4 separate regions of the Homo sapiens genome follow, and all the other regions are linked to region 2. Evidence: promoter capture Hi-C in 16 types of primary human blood cells and fetal thymus (Javierre and others, 2016). All regions are on one chromosome and are shown on one strand. The core of a region is centred on a gene start or on the middle of the fragment in contact, and the rest is flanking DNA. Distances in the headings are between cores, read along the strand shown. Region 1 overlaps LINC01004 (long intergenic non-protein coding RNA 1004). Region 2 holds the start of PUS7 (pseudouridine synthase 7). Region 3 has its middle 58 kb from the start of SYPL1. Region 4 has its middle 6.1 kb from the start of KMT2E-AS1.

Evidence for each region. The method cuts DNA at HindIII sites, captures the fragments that hold promoters and counts their contacts. A CHiCAGO score of 5 or more calls a contact.
Region 1: a contact is called between a fragment that was not itself captured here and the fragment with the promoter of PUS7 in region 2, in 2 of 17 cell types (fetal thymus and erythroblasts). The highest score is 9.3, in fetal thymus.
Region 3: a contact is called between a fragment that was not itself captured here and the fragment with the promoter of PUS7 in region 2, in 1 of 17 cell types (naive CD8 T cells). The highest score is 5.1, in naive CD8 T cells.
Region 4: a fragment that was not itself captured here is called in contact with the fragment with the promoter of PUS7 in region 2 in 1 of 17 cell types (neutrophils); the score reaches 8.3 in neutrophils.

The regions. Positions count from the first base shown.
Region 1 is chr7:104,980,438-104,983,226 of GRCh38, reverse strand. It overlaps LINC01004 (long intergenic non-protein coding RNA 1004), which reads left to right. Exons shown (of 1, transcript NR_039981.2): 1 at 1-1,480. Among named protein-coding and RNA genes, the nearest start is that of LINC01004, 9.3 kb to the left of the region's middle. The HindIII fragment of the contact is 1,038 bases long and covers 765-1,802 here.
Region 2 is chr7:105,520,929-105,523,978 of GRCh38, reverse strand. PUS7 (pseudouridine synthase 7) reads left to right here and starts at 1,708. Exons shown (of 16, transcript NM_019042.5): 1 at 1,708-1,927. RefSeq lists enhancers at 443-943, 2,227-2,881 and silencers at 1,580-2,329, 2,539-2,684. The HindIII fragment of the contact is 10,027 bases long and covers 1-3,050 here.
Region 3 is chr7:106,052,707-106,055,574 of GRCh38, reverse strand. No RefSeq gene overlaps it. Among named protein-coding and RNA genes, the nearest start is that of SYPL1, 58 kb to the left of the region's middle. The HindIII fragment of the contact is 6,086 bases long and covers 1-2,868 here.
Region 4 is chr7:105,006,626-105,009,428 of GRCh38, reverse strand. No RefSeq gene overlaps it. Among named protein-coding and RNA genes, the nearest start is that of KMT2E-AS1, 6.1 kb to the left of the region's middle. The HindIII fragment of the contact is 2,679 bases long and covers 1-2,603 here.

The DNA of each region.
Region 1 (2,789 bases), core at 34-2,533, 540 kb after region 2:
GGCTCCTAATTCCTACGAAGTTTCCGCTTTTATTCAAATTGGCTCACTCCTTTTTGCAGGGCTTTGTACTGAATGAGTATTCTTTTAAGGGTGGTGGACAAGCAAAGGTTTGGTAGCATCACATTTTTAATTTCACAGGGAAAATGGGTATGAAACATCTTCCCAAGTACATCTTAGACTGCCAGCTGACAGCAAGCCATAATGCTCCCCAGCTCTTGGGCCCTACACCCCCTCTCCCCCATCCCCGCTTTAGTTCTTTGTCATTGCTCATGGACAGCTGGTTTGGGGACCAGGTGCAGATGATGGGAGGTGTCTGAAAAACAGCAAGTGAGAAATGCTAGTTTTGTTGTTTTAAGTTGCACTGATGACTCCAGTAGTTATCTGTGCTGCTTGTGATAATTTATAAGGCAATGATAACGAATTAAACATACAAAAGATTATTATCTTCCACAGGAAAAAAAAACTGCAAACTTGTGACACCATTTATGATCCACTTAGTCTTGAGATACTGAGTAATAGAACTTTCTCCTTTTAGGCTGAGTTATGAACTTCGGTTTGGTTTCTTTCTGCAATCCCTGCAGGGCCATAAATTCTTGGCCCTTAAGACTGGGTGGCCCATAACAGACTCAGTGATACCATCAGTAACCACAATTCACACTGGAGTCAAGTTATCTGATTCCCACACCAGTTGGAGAACTGGAGATTCCTTAGAACTTTTAACTGTCATGTTTTCAAAGTTGACATGGAAAATTTTACATGAAGCTTAAAAATACAACTAATCTGTGGTGATAGAGACGAGAAGAGTTAAGCTCTAAAATTAGAAGAGCAGTTCGTTTTGAGGCAGCACTGATTGGGAGGGAGCATGGAGTATATAATTACACATTTCTATGTAATGTAAAAATGTATAGATTTAAGATTTATGCATTTTATGTAAATTTTACTACAATAAAACGAAAATGAAAGAAGACAGATCATAGTTTAATCAAATATTGTGTACAAAGTAATTTCTGTTAAACATTTATATTTTTATGTGTATATGTATCTTTTACATGTATGTGTTAAGGATATGCATTAAAATGGTAATAACTTCCTCTGCCTGTTGGGATAATGGAGAGTTTTGTTACTTTTTGTCTTTTTTTAAAACATGTTCTTCAATAATAATGTATTGCTTTTGTAATTATGAAAAACAAAAGTTATTTTGTAAATCTTTGTTACTGATAAGAGATGGGTATTCTGTTAACTACTCAATTCTCATGTAGGAAAACAAAATAAATAATGTCTATTTGATAAATCGAGAAACAGAAGCATTACTTAGAAATCTGAGTTACCTCTAAAATAATGACTGGCATTTGAAGTTGAGGATGGGTCTTGAGTTCCTGTGATTTTAAGCTCTTGGATATGAGGGTTGGGTGAGTTCCTCTTTTTCTCTTTTAAAATATATGTATGTTTAACTTTGCTAAATAAAATTTAAAAGATGCAATGTATCTCAGTGCAATTTTTAAAAATTTATTTTCATCCAGGTTACTCTACCCTTTCCCTTTGTCATTCAGCAGGCAGAACAAGGAAAAATTAAACTTCTAACTGAAAGGAACTTTGAATAGCAATCAATATCAAATTAGAGACAAAATATAAATATTGCTCAATATAAAATGAGGGTTTTTCTTAATTGAGGGGACAGAAATACAGCTTCTCAGTTATCATAAATTGCATCTTTTTTGGGGAGGGCCTTTTTGGCTTGCATCCATTACCAATTATATATCTTTCACTACTGTGGGAACTGCATTATGGAAACAGCTAAAGCTTGTGTATTTAGCGCCCTCTAGTGCATTATCTTATAACTGATAATACTCCAAACAGCTAGAAAAAATGTAAATCTCAGTCCACCTCCCCTCTTTGCACCTACATGTTTCCTAGCCATGAGACATTAGGCTGTGACCTCACAGTAGTTCTTTAATCTCTAGGCTTCAATTTTCTCATTTGTAAAATGAGGACGATAATAAATACTAGATAGGGTCCTGAGAACTAACTGAATGGTCTATGCTTGTGACATGAATGCCTGGCACATAGTAGAAGCTCGATTAGTGCTAGCTACTCTAACATATAAATAGATCGAGTCAGTACTAACATGATTAAAGACAAGTAATCTTGACTCAGATGTCAGAATCTGCTAGTAGGAAAGTGGAAAATGTTAAAGAGGAACCAAAAAATAAAGAATGAAGGCCTGGGTTTGATACTCATCTTTGGTTCCCTTTTGAGTCAATTGATGCCAATTCTGAAGTCTGGGAACATGTTAAATTCCTTTGCATCCTTCACAGTGCATATAATTGCACACTGTCAACAAATATTTGTGTTAATATTCAAGCTAAATGGTTAGCAAACAAGATGAAGAATGACAGAAAATAATAATTAGTATAAAAATTTGTATTTGGATTCAACTTTCTGTTATTTGAGGCAGAAGCCAAATGCCATTTTTTGGATTGTAGCTTCGGAACAGGCTGTGGACAAGATTTGTGTTACCCGTGTGCAAATGAGCAGCATAATTATACTGTGTGTTTCATATGTTCGCTATGTGACTTTTGTGACTCATTACTGACAACGACAATAGTAGGTTCTAGAATCCTGCCGTCATCCATTCTCACCCATTTTCAGCATTGCATAGGCTATACAGCTAAAATTTACTTCCTCAGACACATTCCAAGAGATACCTTCTCTCCACATAGTCTACATGACCATCTATAGTTCTTTTCCTGCACTGACAGACATAGACTTTGGTACTTAATACCAGTACT
Region 2 (3,050 bases), core at 459-2,958:
TGAATAATGCAGCTATAAACATACTTGTGCAGGTTTTTGTGTGAACATAGTTTTCAACTCCTTTAGGTAAATATCAAGGAGTGTAATTGCTGAATTGTATGGTAATAATATATTTCTTTTTTTTTTTTTGAGACAGAGTTTCCATCTTGTTGCCCAAGCTAGAGTGCAATGGTGCGATCTCAGCTCACTGCAACCTCCGCCTCCTGAGTTCAAGCGATTCTCCTGCCTCAGCCTCCCAAGTAGCTGGGATTACAGGCGCGTGCCACCACGTCTGGGTAATTTTTTGTATTTTTAGTAGAGACGGGGTTTCACCATGTTGGCCAGGCTGGTCTCAAACTCCTGACCTCATGATCCGCCCACCTCGGCCTCCCAAAGTGCTGGGATTACAGGCGTGAGCCACTGCGCCCGGCCGGTAATAGTATATTTCATTGTGTAAAAAACAAAACAAAAAAACAAATTGGGCAGGGCATGGTGGCTCATGCCTATAATCCCAGTACTTTGGGAGGCCTAGGCAGGCAAATCACTTGAGGTCAGGAGTTCAAGGCCAACAGGCAAAAACCCCGTCAAAAAAATTAGTCTGGCATGATGTCAAGCACTCGTAGGCCCAGCTACTCGGGAGGCTGATGCAGGAGAATCGCTTGAACCCTGCAACAGAGTGAGACTCTCTCTCAAACAAAATAAAACAAAACGGAAAAACTATTAGAGGCTGGGAGCGGTGGCTCACGCCTGTAATCTCAACACAGAGGCGGAGGCGGGCGGATCACGAAGTCAAGAGTTCGAGACCAGCCTGGCCAACATAGTGAAACCCCGTACTCTACTAAAAATACAAAAAATAAGCCGGGCATGGTGGCGTGCGCCAGTAATCCCAGCTACTCGGGAGGCTGAGGCAGGAGAATCGCTTGAACCCGGGTGGCGGAGGTTGCGGTGAGCAGCGATCGCGCCATTGCACTCCAGCCTGGGCGACAGAGCAAGACTCCGTCTCAAAAAACAAACAAACAAACAAAAAGCAAAAAAACTATTAGAGCCTGGGCAACATAGTGAAATCTTGTCTCTACCCCCCACCCCCAAAAAAATTAGCCTGGGTGCGGTGGGATGCACCTGTAGTCCCAGCTACTTGGGATACTGAAGTGGGAGGATTGCTTGAGCCTGGGAGGTCGAGGCTGCAGTGAACTGTGTTCACGCCACCGCACTCCAGCCTGTGCGACAGAGCGAGACTCTGTCAAAACCAAACCAAACCAAAACAAAAAAAACCTATGATCCGGTTTCTTGAAGCAGATCCTATGGCAAGCCATCAAGCCAGAGCGGTAAGAAGTAGGAAGATGGTGCTTTTAGATCCACTACATTCCCAGGATCAAATGTAGAACAATATTTAGTCCCTAAAGTGATTCTCTTTCCATTATTGTCAACTGCGTGGTCGGTGCAACGTGAAAGGGCCACAACTATGTGAAGGAAACACTTAGAATATAACACCAAAGGAGGCAATCGCTGCCTTAGACTTCCTAAAGATCTAAAGAACTCTTAGATGCTTGGTGAAATCGCTCTCTGCCGCTGGTGCGACTCAGGCGCGGTCGCGAGGAAGGTCCAGGGTGAACGCGCGTAGGCTGGGAGTCCGCGTTGGGGCGCTCCCTGGCTTGCAGGCCGCTCCGAGTGGGTGGGCCGGGGGCGGGGCCGGCGGCAGGGAGCGGACTCCGCCCCCGGGGCGGGTCCAGTCGGGCCGCGGCGCGTCGCTGCGCCGCACGTGTGCGAGCCCGGCCGCCGGTGAGTCGGCTGGAGCGCATCTGGTCCTCCGCGCGGAAAGCGCTGCTTTTGCCTGGCCGCCCTAGCCGCTGGCTCATCCAAGTGGCCTTCGCCGCTCTCTTGCGTCCCAACCAGAGCGCTGGCCACCTCGCCGCCCAGCTCACGCCGCGCCCGCGCTCCCAGGCTCCGGGTAAGTGCGCGGCCTCCCCGCGGCCGCCGGGGCTCCTCGGCCTGGCCCTGGCCCCAGCCCCAGCCCCAGGGCCCCGCCCCAAGAGGCAGTGCGGACTGGGAAGGCGGACTGGGAAGGCGGCCCCGCAGTGGTCAGAGCCCGCGGCGCCTCCATTATGGATCGTGCCAGCGGGAGCACGGTTGGAACCCAGTGGGTCCTGCGCTTCGGCGGTGCAGGCGCCGCTCTCCGCTCCCCGCTCCCCGCTCCGCTCTGCCCGGCCAGTCGTCCGGAGGCGCCGCGCCCGAGCGCTCCCCTCCTCCCCGCGCGGCGCTGTCCCCCGGGGGCCCCCTTCCCACTCCTCCCTTTCTTTGCCCCGGACGCTCCCTAAACTCTTGTCCCTCCGTCAGAGGAACACTGGCCCTGAAGCCCTTCACGGTGCCACTGCTTCGCCGCGCCTGCCTTCTGTGGGTCCAGCCCACGTGTTCCACCCCTGTGTCCTGCGTCGCCGCTCACTGGGAGCCTACTAGGCGCCACGCGGGCTCTGGGGACTGCTTGCTTTGTATGCATTTCCCAGAGTAGGAGTGGACGGGCTGCAGACTCAGAGTGCTTTCTCCAGCCCTCAAGCTGGGTGAATGCTTAACGAGTGGATGGAGGTGCTGCTGTGCAAGCTGAAATTCGAGTCCTCCTCGTCAGCCCTGCGCAGAGGTGTTTAGAAGCACACCTTCGTTGCCTGCCGAGTAGGGTTGGCAAAGAGTTTAGTTTTTAAAATATTTGGTCCCGTCAGACTACTTTTTTTTTCCATTCCAAAAATAAAGGGTTACTAAGGTTCCCTCCCCCCCATCCCCAAGCCTCTAATCATCTATGAAATGACTATGCCCCATTGGCCTGGGGGAGCCTCGACTATTGAGGGATCTGTCGAAAATCAGACTGTACAACACTATTGAAAAGGGGTTGGTTAGGCAATTGTTAGGTTCAAACATTAGGAAAGTAGCCAACAGTACGTACTTAACAACTCCTTGTGAACATGTTTTTGGTTTTTTTATTTTTATTTTTTTAATTTTTTTGAGACAGAATTTTGCTCTTGTTGCCCAGGCTGGAGTGCAGTTGCGTGATCATCGCTCACTGCAGCCTTGAACTCCTGGGC
Region 3 (2,868 bases), core at 104-2,603, 530 kb before region 2:
GGCAACCATTAACCCGGAGCCAACCCTGAAGTCTTCCCAGCCTCTCACCTGAGCCTCTTCTCACCGCAAAACAGACATTGGAACGACCCACCTGGAAAACTGATGGGGGATTAGTTTCCTTCCCTTGAACGATCTCTCTTCTCAGCCACAGGAAAACAAGTTTCAAAGTTGATTGGGAAAGGGGGGGTGGGGTTCAGATATGGAAAGAATGAGGAGGGAACAGATGGTGCCTGCTAAGGCGACCAGATTTTTTCCCCCAGTTAATCTGGGAATGACCTAATTTACATAGTATTTGCATAAATTTCCATTTCAAATTAAAGCTGTCCTAACTTCAAGCATACAGGAGAAAATAAATGAGATCAAGCAATCTACTGTAATTGAACTCAAGCCGGTCCTGACTTCTGCAAAATGCAGGTCAGGCTTTTAAGACCTGGCACAGGAGAGGAAAGGAAGTTGGCCCCACTGTCCCTTCACAGGAGGGGGCTGGAAGAAGTCTGTCTCCACCTCTGAAATTAGAGAAAGTCATCACAAGGTCCTAGGCCAGAGTGTGGGGAGATGAGGAAATGCCGCCTCTTCTCTGCTCTATTCCTCCCTCCATTGCGGGGCCTCCTAAGGAAGAACCAAAACTAGGAATGGAGCAGAAAAGCCAGAGATGCTCTCCTGAAGTCAGACTGGACTAGCCGGCATCTCACAAATGAAGCAAAGGGAAGGCCGGCGTCAGGTCCAGCCTCTTCAGGCACAGTAGACTGGGCTCTTGTGCAGGAGGGTGGCAGGGTTCACATACCCAGGTGCATGGGACCCGGGAGGCATACACCCGCATGGTGTGTGGGGGTTGTTTTTGCCTGCCTGACTCCTTAGCGCTCCATCCTTTATTCTCATCCTCCACCAGTTCCCAGATCCCATCACACAGCCTCACAGACACACAAACATATGTGAGTGCCAAGGAACGAACACACACACACACACACACACACCCTGGGCATTACCACCAGCCCGGCCTGTGAGGTCTCAACCCAGCTTTGGGAACTCTGGGAACCTAGGATGTGCTGGTCATCTTGTTCACTCAATACCCCTTTGTCTATCTCTTGGATTAACTCAGATCCAGTGAAACTGCAAAGGCAGTGAATTCCTAGGGCATGTCAGATGGGGAAAGAACCAAAGCTGGAGGCTGGGACGGTGTCATGCTCTGTATGGAGTCACCAAGGAAGTACTGGCTGCTGCAGAAAGAAATCCCCACCACAGTGAAGGAAGGCCAGCCAGTGGCACTAGATGCCACCGACTGCAATGGAGGCTGAGTGGTCAAGGTGGACTTGAACCTGCCTTTCACGTGGTCCTCTGATGGAGGTCCTGAGTGCTGGCCTCTGTGTCTTCAGATGCTATGTCTTTTCCCCTCACTCACTGATTCCTCTGCACTGAGCATCCCTCTCTGCTTCCCTACCCACCTCAAGGAGGTGGGAGAAGTCTTGCTCTATTTTGATGTTCGCTGAAACAATTTCTGCTGAGAATTCTCAGGCCTCCCTGAAGTTAAGACAGAAAAACTCCCTGCCCAACCCCTTACTCCCCTGAAACAGGAGGACAGAACAGCCTAGCTGCTTCACTGAGGAGGCAGAGAGTTTGAGGAAAGGAGAGGTAAAATAAAAAAAAGACGGGCCAGGCACAGTGGCTCACACCTGTAATCTCAGCATTTTGGGAGGCCAAGGTGGGAGGATCACTTGAGCCCAGGAGTTTGAGACCAGCCTGGGCAACATATTGAGACCTTGTCTCTACAGAAAAATTTAAAATGAGGCAGGAAGATCACTTGAGCCTGGGAGATCGAGACTGCAATGAGTTGTGATTGCACCACTGTACTCCTGCCTGGGTGACAGAGCAAGACCTTGCCAGAAAGAAGGGAAGGAGGGAGGGAGGGAAGGAGGGAGGGAGGGAAGGAAGGAAGGAAACAAGGGAGAGAGAGAGGGAGGGAGGGGAAAAAAGGAAAAAGGGGGTTCATTAATATTTCAAAAAGTTACTTTGCCACATTCTTTTTTGGGAAATAATGATGCAGGGATCATATAAGCCAAAAGAAAGAAGAAAAGGCCACAGAAAAGAGTCGCCTTTTGAAAAGGCAAGACAAGGAGGGAAGAAAAGATCAAATGGAGACATCAGAGTCTAATTCTGGTGAATTTTTCAAGGGCTGCACCCACTGAGCCCCTGCCCCGCCCCCAGATGCCCTCAGCCAGGCCACACAGTACCTGAGAGCCGGTCTGGGTCTCTGGGCAGCTGCTGGACAGCTGCTCGCCCATTCATGCGGTTAAGATGAGTTCACTGCACAGTGGCATCACACAGATGCTCCTGCTGGCCAAAGAAGGCTCTGGAAGGCCAGGCATTCTCATTCAGCCAGCCCTTTGAAGGCTCCTCACCAGCAAAACCATTTATTTGGGGGTCACTCCAACCTCAGCATAAGAAATACCACACTTTAACCCAGAGGTTGGCAAACTCTGTAAAGGCTGGACAGTAAACATTTTAGGTTTTGCAGACCATTTAGCCTCTAAAACAGAGACTCAACTCTCCTCTAATGCAAAAACAGCCATAGAAAATATGCAAACGAATGTCTGTGATCCAATGAATAGACACACTGAAATCTGAATTTATATAATTTTCATGTATTGTGAAATTATTCTTTTGATTTTTTTTTCATTTAAAATCATTCTTAGTTCACGGACCATGCAAAAATGGCTACAGACCTGACTTGGCAAGTAAGGTGGATTTTGCTTTAAACAAGCCCCAAAGTAGAAGGCTTGGTCTTCTTAAATACAAATTAAGAATAGATTGATTTGATTTACAGAAGAATTTACCTTGGTGATCTAAATAGAGGGTTCCCTGAATGCATTC
Region 4 (2,803 bases), core at 15-2,514, 510 kb after region 2:
AGCTCACTGCAGCCTCCGGCTCCTGGGTTCAAGCGATTCTCCTGCTTCAGTCCGTGAGTAGCTGGAACTACAGGCGCACACCACCACGCCCAGCTAATTTTTGTATTTTTAGTAGAGACAGGGTTTCACCATGTTGGCCGGGCTGGTCTTGAACTCCTGACCTCAGGTGATCTGCCTGCCTCAGCCTCCCAAAGTGCTGGGATTATAGGCGTGAGCCACCGTGCCCATCCTAAACTTAGCTCAGTTTTAATGCTACTTCCATTTCTTTATGTATAGTTTGATGTAAGAATAACAGTTGGAAGTAAGGATTTAGGAATAACAAGAGTTTGGGATTTTTGTTTTTTTAATTAGCAAGGTAATGCCACATCAGGTCATTAGTGACATTAATGAGAGAACAGGGGAATTATTGGAAAGTCTTGACTTAAGGCCAGACGAGAAATCCTTAACTGCTAGTGTGACTTCCCTCCCCACAAAAGAGAATGCTCTCGTAATACACCGAACTGTTGGATGCTGTTGTATATACTTTATATATAATCTTACCCAAGGTGGCAGAGCATTAACTTTAACATCTGTCTCCCTGACCTCACCAGAGTTCATAATCTTTGCCCTACTTACACTGTCTGAAGGATGACTTGGCCTTTTTTTTTTTTTTTTTTTTTTTAATTGAGACAGAGTCTTGCACAGTTGCCCAGGCTGGAGTGCAGTGGCACGATCTCGGCTCACGGCAGCCTCCACCTCCTGGGTTCAAGTGATTCTCCTGCATCACCCTCCCCAGTAGCTGGGATTACAGACGCTTGTCACCGCGCCTGGCTAATTTTTGTATTTCGGGGTTTCGCCATGTTGGCCAGGCTGGTCTCGAACTCCCCACCTCAGGTGATCCGCCCATCTTGGCCTCCCAAAGTGCTGAGATTACAGGCATGAGGTGTGGCACAGGACAGAGAAAGACTTACTTTAAAACATACCTGTCTTCAACCCAGAAGAGACTGGCTTTTAGAGCCCTCAATGTAGCAAGAAGAGCCTGAATCAGAGCAGGAGTGATAAAGAAGGAATCTAAGTTATTACAGAAACATCCGTAATTGTTGCCTGGGTGGGTATAAGGAAGAAGAAGGAATTGACTTTCAAGAAAAATAATTGACATTTGATAGTCTTCACAGATAAAAGCCAAAACAGGGTAGATTCAGTCTTAATAGGAGACAAATTTAGCAAGAAAGCTGAGATCTTGGGTCGGTCTACATTTTAGGCCAAGGAAAAGGAACTGATTGCATTTGTTTTTTAAGATAGATTATACGCCAGTGCATAACATATTTAACCTAAGTCTGATTAGCTTTATAATAATTTTTAAATTATTCATAACTATCCTAAGCAATACCTTTTATTGTTAGATTATTATGTAATGCCCACAAATGATAGATAGCATTTGAAAGTAATTGCTGGCTGATTATAGGCATGGTGGCTTATGCCTATAATCCCAGCACTTTGGGAGGCCAGGGTTGGTGGATCACATGAGGCCAGGAGTTCAAGACCAGCCTGGCCAACGTGGCAAAACTCTGTCTCTACTAAAAATACAAAATAATTAGCTGGGCGTAGTGGTGCACATCTGTAATCCAGCTACTCAGGAGGCTGAGGCATGAGAATTGCTTGAATTGGGGAGGTGGAGGTTGCAGTGAGCTGAGATCGCACCACTGCATTCCAACCTGGGGGACAGAGTGAGACCCTGTCTCAAAAAAAAAAAAAAAAAAGGAATTGCAAGTAGCCTGTAATCCCAGCACTTTTAGGAGTCCGAGGCAGGAGGATCACTTGAGACCAAGCTGGGCAACATGATGAAACCCCTGTCTCTACAAATAATTTTTTTAAAATATTAGCCAGGTGTCTGGCACACGCCTGTAGTCCCATTTACTTAGGAGGCTTAGGTGGGAGGATCACCACTTGAGGCCAAGAGATCAAGATCAGCCTGGGCAACATAGCAAGACCCCCACCTATAGGAAAATAAATCCGAGCGTTCCAAGTGTTCAGCTATTCACCCACTTTAGGTTTCCACCTTCCTTAGAAAGTAGAGTAGTATAAATTATTTCTGAAATTTGTGAAACGATGTACCACATAACCCTCTCAAACCAGGTTGCTACTACTTCCAATGACTTCATTGATAAGGGGCAAAGTAACTCGAATGATGGGTGAGCTCATGACATGGTTTAGCTCCGTATCAAACTCTGGATTTGGGAAAATTGCTACTGATTTATTAAACACTTGAATTCTTATATGCTAGGTCAGAATTTGGCAACTAAACTCTCAGAAATTTGTAAACTTCCTTTTTACATAGAAAAGTGAATCCAGGCTGGGTATGGTGGCACGTGCCTGTAATCCCAGCTGCTCAGGAGGCTGAGGCATGATAATTGCTTGAACCTGGGAGGTGGAGGTTGCAGTGAGCCCAAGATTACACTGCTGTACTCCAGCCTGGGCAACAGAGGGAGGCTCTGTCTCAAAAAAAAAAAAAAAAAAAAAAAAAGTGAATATACTGTACTGTAAAGCCTGTGCACCTCTTCATCACACATAATTGCCTGTACATTATGCCCAGTGCCTGGCCCCTATTGGATTTCTGACAAGCTTTAATGTTGTTAGGTTAAGAGAGAACCTGTTCCTCAAGTTTAGTCTTATCTCTAGTATTTAAATTTTTCATGAAGGAAGGCTGTGCTAAGGCGATACTTCATTCCTGAAGAACACTTACTTAAATAAGTAATGTTCAATTAATTTTCCTCATTCTATGAAAAACTTGAAAAGGCAACAAAAATATTCACTATTCTCTGGT